2 separate regions of the Homo sapiens genome follow, and region 1 is linked to region 2. Evidence: promoter capture Hi-C in human tissues and cell types (Jung and others, 2019). All regions are on one chromosome and are shown on one strand. Each heading gives the region's core, a stretch centred on a gene start or on the middle of the fragment in contact. The rest is flanking DNA. Distances are from core to core; before and after follow the strand shown.

Evidence for each region. Contacts are between HindIII fragments. The study calls those that stand out against the background at their distance.
Region 1: a fragment that was not itself captured here is called in contact with the fragment with the promoter of SH3BGRL2 in region 2 in 1 of the 25 tissues and cell types used here (dorsolateral prefrontal cortex).

Annotation. Positions count from the first base shown.
Region 1 is chr6:81,596,115-81,603,088 of GRCh38, reverse strand. No RefSeq gene overlaps it. Among named protein-coding and RNA genes, the nearest start is that of TENT5A, 150 kb to the left of the region's middle. The HindIII fragment of the contact is 3,364 bases long and covers 1,823-5,186 here.
Region 2 is chr6:79,627,684-79,634,722 of GRCh38, reverse strand. It overlaps SH3BGRL2 (SH3 domain binding glutamate rich protein like 2), which reads right to left and starts at 3,394. Exons shown (of 4, transcript NM_031469.4): 1 at 3,217-3,394. The coding sequence starts at 3,261. The HindIII fragment of the contact is 5,139 bases long and covers 1-3,960 here.

The DNA.
Region 1 (6,974 bases), core at 2,255-4,754, 2.0 Mb before region 2:
TCAATTTCAGACCTTGTTATTGGTCTAATCAGGGATTCGATTTCTTCCTGGTTTAGTCTTGAGAGGGTGTATGTGTCCAGGAATTTATCCATTTCTTCTAGATTTTCTAGTTTATTTGCATAGAGGTGTTTATAGCATTCTCTGATGGTGGTTTGTATTTCTGTGGTGTCAGTGGGACAGCGTGGTGATTCCTCAAGGATCTAGAACCAGAAAAACATTTGACCCAGCAGTTCCATTACTGGGTATATACCCAAAGGAATATAAATTATTCTACTATTAAGACACATGCACATGTATGTTTATTTACATTCACTATAACAAAGACATGAAACCAGCCCAAATGCCCATCAATGATAGACTGGATAAAGAAAATGTGATGCCTATAAACCATGGAATACTATGCAGCCATAAAAAGGAATGAGATCATATCCCTTGCAGGGACATGGATGAAGCTAGAAGCCACCATTCTCAGCAAACTAACACAGGAACAGAAAACCAGACACTTCATGGTCTCACTTATAAGTGGGAGTTGAACAATGAGAACACACGGACACAGGGAGGGGAACAACACATACTGGGGCCTGTTGAGGGGTAGGGGGCACAGGGAGGGAACCTAGATGACAGGTCAATAGATGCAGCAAACCACTATGGCACACATATACCTATGTAACAAATCTGCACATTCTGCACATGTATCCTGGAAGTTAAAGTAAGATAAAAATAAAAATAAAAAAAATAAAAAAACACAGGTATCTGACAGATGGGATTGCACTAAACTCAAAAGCTTTTGCACATCAGGGGAAACAACTGAGTGAAGAAGTGATTCACATATTGGGAGAACATATTTGCAAATCATACATTGAAAAAGTGGTTAATATTCAAAATGTACAAGAAATTCAACTCTAGCAAAAACCAAAATAAGACAAAACAAAACAAAAATTATGCAATTAAAAATGGACAAAAAAACCCTGAATAGACATTTTTCAAAAAAAATGGCCAACAGGTGTATGAAAAGGTGCTCAACATTTCTAATCATCAGATAAATGCAAATTAAAAGCACAATGAGGTAACACATCATACCTGTTAGATTAGCTACGAACAAAAAGAATAAAGAAAGCAAGTGCTGGTGAGAATGTGGAGAAATAGGAACCATTGTGCACCGTTGGCAGTGTTGCGAATTAATATCACCATTTTGGAAAATGATGTGGAGCTTCCTCAAAAAACTAAAAATAGAGTTAACATATAATCCGGCAATCTCCCTTTTGAGAATATATCCAAAGAAATAAAGCCAATATGTTAAAGAGTTGACTACATTTGTATATTCATTGTAACACTATTCACAATAGCCAAATGAAGATAACTAAAGTGCCCATTAACAGATGAATCAATTAAAAAAAGTGATGTGTACATATACAATAGAATATTACTCAACCTTTAAAAAGCAGAAAATCCTGTCATTCAGGAAGGTAGGGGTGAAACTAGAGGATATTATGCTAAGTGAAATAAGCCAGGCACAAAGAGACAAATACTATATGATTTTATATATATATGTGAAATTTTAATAAATCAAACTCATAGAAGTAGAGAGTAAAATGGTGGTTACCAGGAGCTTGGGGAAAAGAGGAGATATTGATCAAAGGATACAAAGGTTCAATTAGATACAAGGAATAAGTTCTGGTGATTTATTGCAAAGTATGGTGACTATAGTTAATGTATATTTCAAAATAGCTAAAATAGAAGACCTTATTTTATGATTTTCTCATGTAAGATAGGTTTTACTATTTATTTTTTTTAACTTTTATTTTATGTTCAGGGGTACATGTGAAGGCTTGTTACACAGGTAAACTCATGTCACAGGTGTTTGTTGTACAGATTATTTCATCACCCAGGAATTAAGCCCAATACCCAATAGTTACCTTTTCTCCTCCCCTCCCTCCTCTCACCTTCCACCCTCAAGTATACCCCAGTGTTTGTCATTCCCTTCTTGGTGTTCATAAGTTGTCATCATTTAGCTCCTGCTTATAAGTAAGAACACATGGTATTTGGTTTTCTCTTCCTGAATTAGTTTGCTGAGGATGATAGCCTCCAGCTCCATCTATGTTCCTGCATGAGAAATGATCTTGTTCTTTTTTATGGCATATAGTATTCCATGATGTACATGTACCACATTTTCTTTATCCAATCTCTCATCAGTGGGCATTTAGGTTGATTCCAAGTCTTTGCTATTGTTAATAGTGCTGTAACGAACATTCGCATGCATGTGTCTTTACGGTAGAGTGATTTACATTCCTCTGGGTATATACCCAGTAATGGGATTGCTGGGTCAAATGATAGTTCTGCTTTTGACTCTTTGGGGAATTGCCATACTGCTTTCCACAAGGGTTGAACTAATTTACACTCCCACCAATAGTGTATAAGTGTTCCCTTTTCTCTGCAACCTCACCAGCATCTGTTATTTTTTTGACATTTTAATAGTAACCATTCTGATTCATGTGAAATGGCATCTCATTGTGGTTTTGATTTGCATTTCTCTAATGAACAGTGATATTAAGTGAACAGTGATTTTTTTCATATGTTTGTTGGCCACATGTATGTCGTCTTTTAAAAAGTGTCCGTTCATGTCCTTTGTCCACATTTTTATGGGGTTGTTTAGAAGCTCTTAAGTTCAATTAAATCCTACTTGTCAATTTTTGGTTTTGTTGTGATTGCTTTTGGTGTCTTTGTCATGAAATCTTTGCCCATTCCTGTGTCCAGGATGGTATTGCCTAGGTTGTCTTCCGGGATTTTATAGATTTGAGTTTTACATTTAAGTCTTTTAATCCATCTTGAGTTGATTTTTGTATATGGTATAAAGAAGAAGCTTCAATCTTCTAAAACAGAGGATTTTAAATGTTCTCATCACAATTAAATGACAAATATTTGAAATGATGAATATGCTAATTATTCCTGATTTGATCATTTTACAATGTATACGTTTCAAACATTGCACTGTATCTCATAAATATACACAAGTATTATTTGTTAGTTAAAAATTAAGTAAAACTTTGAAAAATCAGGTGTCTGAGCCCCATCCCCAGACTTTCTGATTCAGTACTTCTAAGGTGAAATCCAAGAACTGGCCTTTCTAGTAAGTTTTCCAGTGATGCCGATGCTGCTGGTTCAGGACCACATTTTGAGAATCCCTCCACTAGAATATTCTACAGTAATAAGCAATCCCACATTTAAGTGGTTTATAACAACAGAAGCTTATTTCTCAGTGTATGTGGCATGAATGTTGCAGTCTGCAGGGGGACTCTGCACATCATGGCCACTCAAGGGCCCAGGCTTATGGGGGCTCCACTGCCATACGTGCATCCATGGTCATCAGAGAGAGGAAGAGAACCTGGTCAGTTATGAGCTGACTCTTAAAATTTCTGTTTGGAACAACTCACTCAGTGTTAGCTATTATGGGTAAAATTTTAGTGTAATTTCTGTTAATAGCACTGATTAGGGTTAGGCAACTTATCAAGGGAGTGATGCTACTTCTGAAGCTTGCTTGGATATGCATGGGGAGGAGAGTCAGAATGACAGGGATAAAGACTGCTCTCATCTTTTGCACTGACATTGCAAAGTAATGCTGTTTTTCTTTTTCTCTGTCATCTTGAACTGCCTTTTCAGTCTTGTGCCTTTACACAAATCCTGTTTCTGAGATTTTCTAGCCTTGACTTCTGAATTCCATTTATTAAACCTTGCCTGTTCTGTGTCAATGTAATAGCTAAGAATTATTGATCAGGTCATTATTTTATGTGTTTTACATACAGTCTTTCTTTTAATCACTAAATCTCTTATCATCTTCATGTCACAGATAAGGAAACTGAGGTCCAGAGTCCCTTTGGCTTTAATCTGATAGTTGTCTTCCATCTACTTCCCTTTGGACTTGATGCTTTGGACTTTCCCTTGCTTTAAGTACCCCCTTCACCTGGTTCATGGACTTCATCTGCAGAGCCTTGAGCTCACACTGGGCACTTCTCTGCCTTGCTTGGCTCCTAGAGAAGAGGCTACACTTGGATGATAAAAAACCTGCTCACATGTTCATCTCAAGGGTATTGGAGAACTACAACATATTACAGGTACTTTCATGTGAGTACTTCAAATTCTACAAAAACATATAGCAAGAGAGGAATTATTTTTTTCTCATTTCAGCTTCATGCAGCCATTATTTCTTTGGTGAAGTTTTTGTGCTCAATAAATTATAGCAATAGCACAGGTCAGTTTTACCTGAATCCCCACCACTTATTTTAAATTTTATTCTAGGAAGACAGAAAAGTACAGTGGGAAAAAGACAGGTTTTGAAGCCAGGTAAACCTAGGGCCGAGTCCCTGTTATACTATTCTACTAGCTGGGGGACTTTGATGAGGACATTTGATTTCTCTTATTTGTAAAATGAGAACAACCTCAAAGAAATGTATTTTTTAGGTAAAGCATCACTTTTCTGTACTGCAAGGGCCTGCAGGAAAATTAAACAGGAGGTGGTTGGACCAATAAAAGCTTATGCAACTGTAATTAATTAATGAGATATGTGGGCCTGTTCTTTACAATTTTTTCAGCTTATTTGCGCTGCCAAAAGATGAATTCTCAGTCTCCAGAGAATGGGATTAGCAGTATGAAGAATTTGAAGTGATCTTTCTCTTCTAGAATGACTGTTTGTTTTTCATCTCTGTTCAAATAGCTAAGTTGATTTATTTCATAGTTCTAGCTTTGCTTTTATATTATCTCATATTACTTCATCAGAATTATGATTATTTGTTTTTCAGTTTAAAAACATATATCATGCATTATGTGTGTCTTAACATTCTGTTAAGCATTATTATGGATACCAGAAAATTAAAAGGCATCGTTCCTGCTGGTAGGAAGGTTATATGTTAATTGAGACAAAGTTAATACTTCAGTAACAACTCTAGGAAAATTCCAGATTATGTATTATACAGTATCATATTGTGGGGATAGGTGAACATCTATAGTATATGGCCAGGGCTTTCCTTTCCCCTAAATTTTGGGAGAAATTTATTACATGGATACTTTACAAGGGGTATTGTGTTATCTGGTAGATGGTAACTTGGAGTATGGTTATAGAAAATATAGAAGGGGTGGATTTCTGTCATGTCACCCCTCAGACACATGCCAGGTGGGTCTTAGCAGAAAACTAGATTAAGACCAAGAGGAAATAATAATACTTCAGAAGCTAAAACCCCCAGCGTTAAACAAAGTTTTTCAAAATACATTGGTTTCTCCAATTCATTCTCCACCATGCTATCAGAGTAACCTTTTAAAAATGCGAATTTGATCATGTCAATCAACTGCTTTACATTTTTGTTGGCTTCCATTGTATTCTTCTAGGAGAAAGACCCAAACCTTTAACATTGCTTAAGGCCCACTGTGGGCTGGCTGGCCCCTACCTTTGTGCCCTCTCATTTATGCTAATGACATTCTTTAAACAGAAGCCACGAGGTTCTGCTGTCAGTACTCATTGAGACCAAAAAATACATTTCTTGCTGTTGGTCAAAAAGTCTTGTCCAAGTAAATTATAGGTGTGGGAAAAAATCCGTAACAGAATGAGAACATGAGTAAGAAGTGAACTGAAAGACAAAATTAGTAAACATTCTTCTCAACTCTTATTAAGTACAATTCCATGTTTACATTCTTAAGATGAGCCTAAGTTAAGGTCTGAGAGCTAGACAGCTATTTTTTGATTGTTATGTTTTCAAAAACTTCAGTCCTAGTAATGGTAGTGTATTGCTTATCCTTATGGATGGATAATGTTCCAAGAGATTGTCCTCAAGCAATTCTACTTGATGGTTCTTTTAAGCTTCTTTTTTTTTCTTCAAATTTTCATTTTTTAACTCCCTCATTGAAAAACAAACAAACAAACAAAAACAAAAAACAAAAAAAAATGTGCTGAATGTCTCTATGAGATCAACCACTTTGTTGGATATGAAGGCTAAAGTAAATAATAAAAGTAGTGCTTGTTTGCCCTTTAGAAACCTCTATTCTAAGTAGGAGGCACCTGAGCAGACAGAAATATGTAGTGTGGTATAATATAGAGGCCTACAGAGGAGAGGTCCCTAACCCAGACTTAGGATATTAACAGAGGTTTTGCAGAGAGTGTGATGCTAGAGTTAATTCAGAAGTACCAACATGAGTTGGTTAGATGAAAGATGTGTATAGGGAAGGCATAAGTTGCTTTAGAAGAAGGGAGCAGCAAATTCTACTGTAGCATTAGAGATAAGAGAGAGCTCATGTGTTATGGACATTTCACATGGGTCTTGAGGTAGGCAGAGGAAAAACTGAGGCTACATAATAAAGACCTTGTATGTCTTGGTAAGACTTTTATTCTAAAACCTACTGGAAACCATTGGGGGTTTCAAGTAAGGAATCTCTGTGTTATTTAACACTTTTATATGTGACCTGGCCAGCTACCAATTATTCTCTTTTGCTTTAGAGTCTCTCTGCTTAACCCAGCTGGTTTGTTGGTATTATAGAACACTGTCTCTCTGGCCATGTCTGATTAGCTGTTCTATCACATTGAGGCAATCATATGCTTTCTCTTTTGAATTTGATCTAAAGACCACCCAAATGTAGAAATTAAAATATTTACTTGCGAGCTGTAGAATTACATATTCTGTCAAATAGGTTTGAAAGTAGAGAAGGAAAAAGGAAGCAGTTATCGAGAGAAAAACAGAGGCCTAAAACAAAGTGAGGTTATTTCCCTGAAATTATTATTATCATCTACTAGTTGTAGTCTTAGTTCCTATCAAGGCCTAAGCGATTTCTTAGCCTTGGGTCCTATAGACAACAAACATTCTTGTCATAGTTTGGCTTTCTCAAATGTAGACCTTCAGATATGGATTCATAAGTAAAAGATTTTTTTAAGAAATGTTCCCAGGAAAATAAAGAAGTAGAGTAAGTAGGTCCAGGAAGGGAAGAATGGTGCAATA
Region 2 (7,039 bases), core at 2,145-4,644:
AACTCATCTCCTACCTGTGAATTCCTTGGAGACACAGATCACACCCTCTATTCTCTGGCTTCCCAGAAGACCAAGGACAGAGCTAGGCAAGCAGCAGACTCTTAGAAAATACTTGTTGAATGAGTAAATGAAATAACTGACTGACGGAATAAATGAAATAATTGACGGATTTCAATGTTTTTAAAGTAAAAAGTCATATTCACATATTTCCTGGACAAAGTTACTAAGACTTCCCCTTTCAGGAATACATCCAGAATAAATTAAATTTTAAAATGACATTTCTATGAATATATTATTTTCTTAGAACTGAGAACAAAAAATTTCCCTACAATACAATGTGAATGAGTAGCAACATGGTCAGTTGAATAAGAAATCCGATTTTTCAGGTATCTGTAGCATAATAATGTGGCATTGCTTTTGTTTCCTAGTAAAAACTGACTTCACCTGGAGCCAGGGAAGACAAAAGAGGAATCATTCCTTGGTGTTAGTTATTCCAACTGCTGAAGCTGGAGAGCTTAGGGGAATCAGAAGAAAACAGGATGATTTTCTCTAAATAGATTGTTTAAATCTATTGATGATTGAAGCGGAGCATCTTTTTGGAAATTCTGGGACTTACTTGGCTAAGTCTAATTCTGGTCACATCCCTTCCTTGTGGTTTAATAAACTTCAGCTAAAACCAAACTGACTCAAGAATCAAATTATTTGTTCTCCCATGCACTTGCTCGTCACAGTTGGGTACCAAATGAAACACTATCAACAGTCAACCCAACACTTCTGGAGGGAACACATCATGGCTACGCCACTAAAGCTTAATATAGCTTAATGCTACTGGCCCCATTAGCCTCGCCAGCCCAAGAATTGACCTAAATATCCTCACTGGTTCTTAGAAATCATTATTCTTACATATGAACATAACCTTAACATCACTAAAAGTATGGATATTACAGATAAACTGTGTACTGATATAGGAGATAAAACTACAATTGGGGAGACTCAATGAATAACTGTATTGATATAAGATATAATTGAGGAGACTGAACAAACAAGGATTTTCTAAAACCTGAAAAGACTGGGTCTTCAAACAGCAGAATATTAAAATAGATAATTAGTGTTTATAGTCTGTAAGCATGTGGTAACTGTGTATGTCTTCTAACTCAAATGAAACCATGTCAGAACACATGCTACGAGGCAGGGCATTGAGGGGATCTGAGCCTTCACAATAAAATGTCCAAGGAAAGAAGACTAATAGGTATATTATTATACTAATAGGTATTATACTAATAGGTATAGGTATACCTATTACCTTGAGACTAATAGGTAGGTATATTGTTCAAGCAAAAGAAGCTGTTATAAGGATTCATCCATATTTACTCACCTGGTGAAGTCAAAATACTTTAAAGCTAGAGTGTGCAATTCTGAGTTATCCATGAAAATCCTTCATTTTACAGAAGAGAAACTCAGGCAGAGATGAGGTACCTTAACCAGGCTTACACTGCACTAGTTGGGGCCCACACTAAAACTTAAGTCTCTTAATTTTAGCTCCATGTGCAAAACACAAAACATTAAATTTAAAAGTTAAAAAGGCACACAGCAGGCAGGCAATAAATATTTGCCAATGGCACTGAAAAAACAAAGATGTGGAGTACCAAAACTATCTCAATATACTACCTACTAATAGAGTAAGCCAAGTCATTACCTTGACTTGGTCCGACTTGCTCCAAAGTAGCCTAGGCTTTATCTCTTGTGGAAGGGATAAAAACCATTCCTTCCATAATCAATATAATGCTATTGGGACAATTATTGAAGCATGCAAGTCGGTGGTGAAACCAAGAGCTTTGTAGCATTCTTAGTAAGGAGTGCATTTGAACAAATCTACCCTTGAAACAGTGCCAGTTTGCAAACACATGAAGTGTGGCTTCAGTGGGGAAATCTACAAAAGGCAGGCATGACTAAGCAACCCAAATAGCTAGAAACACCAGAAACTGTCAGAAGTCTGAGGACCCCAACATGACTGCACATAAGTGTAAGTTGGATTTTCCCATCTATTGTTTCTAGTGCAAATGGGGGTGGAGGGGCTTTGTATGATCGTGTTGGTTTCTTTTTAAATAAAAAACTTCAGTGGTGTACAAGGATTTTCAAACAATATTTTATTCCATCCTCCACTCCACCCACTTAAGAAACAAATTTTGGAACAATCTGACTGAGCTACTGGGCAGACAATTGACCAGACCAAATTTAAGCAATCTACAATGCACTTTTTGATGTTACTTGATTATATATGTCACAAAGGAGGCTCTTAAATCTATAGCTGAACTCTTGGTTAAGGAAACCAAGTCTCAATAATCATGTAAAACACATGTGCTATGTCCCTTAGTGGGCTGTCAAATATACTAACTACTGAATTTTCCTTAAATTCTGACATCTCTAGCTATTTAACTTTCCTTTCTTTAAAAAAATTTTTTTTCTCTAAAAAAATTCAAGAACATCCACCAAAGAGAATAGCTAAAAATAATTAAATAGAAAACCACAATTCATAGATCCCCAGGATAAAATTTCCACAGCATTACAGGTGGAAAGAAAATGCGTGCATACACACACATTTACATAAAGATGTAAAAATATTTATGGCACCCTAAGAAAAAAAATGACAGTGAAAGCAAACAATCCTACCACAACAGGACAAACCTAGTTTTACTATTCTCTTTGCGCAGGTATAAAACTAAACAAATGCACTTGCTGGCGGGGAAGGGAGGACAGAGAGCAATTCCCACTTAAACTTGCTTCATTCAGGAGCTAGGGTAACAAACCAAAGCAGCAGAAAAGGCTCCCGTGCAAAACATAACCAGTCTGAAGGTCCCAAATCGGGAAGAACTAAACTAGGGGAAGGGGGATCCCCGAAGCTCTTGAACAACCCGTTCCCCAAATTTCCATGCCACACAACAGGAGCTGGGGGCTTCCCTCGGACTCCATTTTCAGGCCGCGTTGTCTGCCTTTCAGGCCACGCAGGGTGGGCATTTGGGTGAGGCCGGGGTCCCCCACCCACCTTTCCTCCCCGCCCTCTTCATTGTTGTCGGAGTGTGATGGATCACCTGCCGGGCGCGGGCTCCCGCGGGCGGACCGGCTGAGCGCAAGGACGCGCAGTGACGAGCGCCGCGCGCCTCCCGCAGGACCCGCGCCCCGCGACCCCAACCTACTGCCCGCCCCCACCGCGCTCACCGCCACGAAGCCCGAGGAAGAGGCGATGAACACGCGGATGACCATCCTCTCGCTGCGCCCGGGACAGACCCCTTGCCCCCCGGGCTCCGGGCTGGCGTGGACGCAGAGCTGAACCCAGCTACGAGCCGCCGGCAGCCTCTGGGTAAAGCGCTGCCGTCGGGGAAGATCGCTGGGATCTGGCTCCCTCCCGGCGGGTCCGCAGATAAAAGCCCAGCGCCGCCCGGCCGCAGGCTGAAGGGGAAGGAGAGGGAGGAGGAGGGAGCCGGCTGCGGGGCTTGATGGGATTTGTAGTTTCCGTCTCTCCCTGGAGTGGCTGGTGGACTGAGCTCCCCTCCTGACCGCGCTTCTATCCCGAACACGCGCAGGTGGCTGGAGGGGAGCCACAGCCCGGGCAGAAGCTGTGAGGTGGGTTGGCAAGGATCCTGGCTTGATGAGGAAAAAGCAAACTAGGCAAAAGGGCTCGGTTCAAAGTCCAAGCTTGGGTTCTGTATTGTGGTTTATTGGTTTGGAGCATCCACACCCAGAAATGCCAACAGACACGATCGTGCTGCGGGCACACATCGTCTCAGGGCCGCTGGCGTACCGGGCAAACCCCAGCTACCTGAAGCAGGCGGGATCGGCGAGCCGGGTGCTTGGGAGGTGTGGGCGGTGGGGTTGGGCTCGTTTGTTTGTCCAGTAGCACTGGAGATTGCAGAAAGGTGATTCTTTTGGGTAAATGAGAGGTCTTCTCTTGTCTGTACACACTGAAAATTAGAAACCCAGATGGAAGCACAACCAATATTTTATTTTTCTCAGCAAAACTGTAATTGTAGTAGAAAAAAATAAATACCAAACGAAATTGGAATCCTTCTATCAACATTGGAAATCAGGACCCTACCTGCCCCACCCCTCCCTACACAATGGCTTCGCCTCTGTGCACCTAATATTTACAGTTCAGCCAAATCTGTGCCTTTTTCAGAACCGCTGCACATTCCAGCGCAGTTTCCCAGGAGGATGCTGTTAAATAAAAAGCTTCTATATAGTTGCTAATAGTTTAGGAATAGTTTTTTATCAAGTGCTTTCTGTTTGACAAAAGCTCAAGCCTCTCTCTCAGTTTTGTCGAAAGGAACCAGTTTTCCCTGCTGTACTGTATTTACTTTTTTCCTTTCAACACGGGAGTTTAGCAGAGGTCTGGGAACAATGTTAATTAAGAAAAAGTAAGAAATTAGATGATGAGGTCTCTGGCTCTTTGATACATTTCTTGCACAAAGAGCAATCATTATGAAGTATTTTTTAGAACAGTTATGAATATTTCAAATTTATAACCTTTCCTATTGCTTTTCTTAAAGCCATTTCTGTAGTAGGAATCTTTTTAAATTTCCTTCAATAATAGAAGAGACACTCCTAATGGGACTTTATTTCTTCTTCGTGTTTAAAATTTTAAATAGAAGTTTTGCTGTCTTTAGTATCTCTCGGCAAATGTACTTTAATTTTGCTACCATAAATGTGGAAATGCACGTTTATAAAATAGAAAATAATTTTCTTAAAAGTAGATACCGTATTTCCTATATAAATGCAAATCTTTATAAAAGTCAGCATTTTCTTCAGTTTGGAATTATTCAGCTATGAAGATATAGTTAAACTCAAATAATTGGAACTCAGAGCCTACTCTGTGAAAGGTACAAGAATGGATAAAAAGTTGAACGAGTCATTTCTCTGTCAGCAGAGCACCTATTGTCTAGGAAAGAAAAAGACAGATACAGAAATAGTGACAGAACAAGACACACTGTACTAATACAGTGTTGTGTGGATGTAAAGGAAAAAGGTGGCCATAGAAGGTACTTTAAAGATGAGTAGAATTTCTGTCTGCAGATAGGGAGGATGCAGGGTGAGACTATTCAGGGTGTGTGAGGAGAACAGCAAGGAGTTGGTTTTGCTTCAGAAAGGAATATGAGGGAACTAGTAGAGGACAATGCTGAAAAAGTAGGTTTGAATGAATGCCAACAAAGGACTTTCTCACTGGGTTATCTGCTCAGCTCCTTGGGATTTCTGCTCCTTTCCTCTGATCCTAGAGGTTGTAAGGGTCCCCCAAGCCCTGTACATACAGCAGGGCCTAACCCTCTGACCACAGCTTATTGATCTAGGAGTGAGCACCTAAGCCAAGCAAGGCCAAGCAACATTTCTACCCTAAAGATTCAGAATTGGAACTGGGAAAACAAGAGAGCTTGAATTTGTGACATGGAAGCTCAGAGCTTCCAACATGAGAATCAGAGAAGCTGAAGAAGCTAGTCAGTAGAAAGAGAACAACAGAGAATTTGTAAAAAAGAGTTGGAGATAATAGCTCTAAGTTTTAGAAAGAGTCCTGACAATACTGTAATCTAAGGGTCCTCAAACTATGACCTGTATGTCAAATGCACGTGGCTACCTGCTTTGTAAATAAAGTTTTATTGGAACACATTCCTCTTGGTATTGTCTATGGTAGACTGACAGAGGTCGTATGGCCCACAAAGCCTAATACATTTACATCTGGCCTTTACAGAAAAAGTTTGCCAATCTCTGATCCTGTTCAACCTGTTCCTATATCCCTGCTCTTGAGGGCTGTGTAATATCCCTATATCTGTAAGTTCCTCATCTTGCTTAAGCCACCTGAAATAGGTTTTGTTTCATGGAACCAAAAGTGCCCTGAGAAATTCATAAGCGCTCTGTGTCCAAATGCATTCTGAGGAACAGAAGGATATAATCAGAATTATACTTCAAGAAGAATCCTCTATTTTTTCCACCCTGAATGAAAAGGTTCACCTTTTGACCTTGTATGCAGGAGAAAATATGTTAGCAATCCAGTAAAACAGCAAGGCCGGTATGGAGTTGAGACCCAGAGTTGGTAAACAAAGTGGAAGAGTACCTGAGAGCAGAATGCAATCTAGGATATAAGATAGAGGTCCAAGATCAACACCAGCTTATCAGACCACAGAGAGTATTAGATGCCAATCTGACAAATAAGGTCTACAGATAGAGCGGGTAGCCAAAACTGAAAGATGAGACTAAGAAAATTGAGCAGGTCATTAGGCTTGAAGAAAGTGGCTCCCATGTTGCCTAGGACTTTATCCCCTTTACAAGTCCTGGTAGACCATATGGCTAGAATGTTTTAAAGTAGGGGTTCTTGACCTTTTTTTTTTGTGGGAGTAAGAGGAGTGCCAAGGACCCTTTAGTAGTCTGATGAAATCTATCGGTGGTTTCTCAAAAAAAAAAAGTTTCTAAATATAGAAAATTTGAAAGTATAAGGTTACAAAGGAAACTATACTGCAAAACAATTACCAAAATGTTAAAATTTTGATATGATAATATGTATGATTCTTTATTAATGTATTAAATATTAAGATTGGTGGATCAAACGGCCGTCATGATTTTGAAGTAGTAATGGGAAAAGATAAAATTTTGAGATATTTGCAATCATTGGAAAATATGAAAATGCCTGTGATTTCTATTGGTAACAAAGTCACAGTGTTGTTGCTATTACAATGGCTTAACTACTTTCATAATTGAAGGAATTGGTAAATTTCAGTTAGAGTTTAGTGAAAAGATAAAGATGTGATTTTTTTTCTCATTCAAGTCCATGAACCCCCTAAATTCTATCAAGTCCCTTTAGGCTGGGGGTGAGGGGAGATCCAAGAACCCCAGGTTAAGAAATCATGATGTCTGAATATATCTAAATCTACAGAAGCCTATTATTTTGCCTAAGAAGAAAACATGGAAAGAGACAAGAAGGAGCCATGAAGAGTCCCTTGGAGATCTCCTACACTTAAGAATTGGAAAAAGAATGAGGAATTAAAAATAGTAGAAGAGC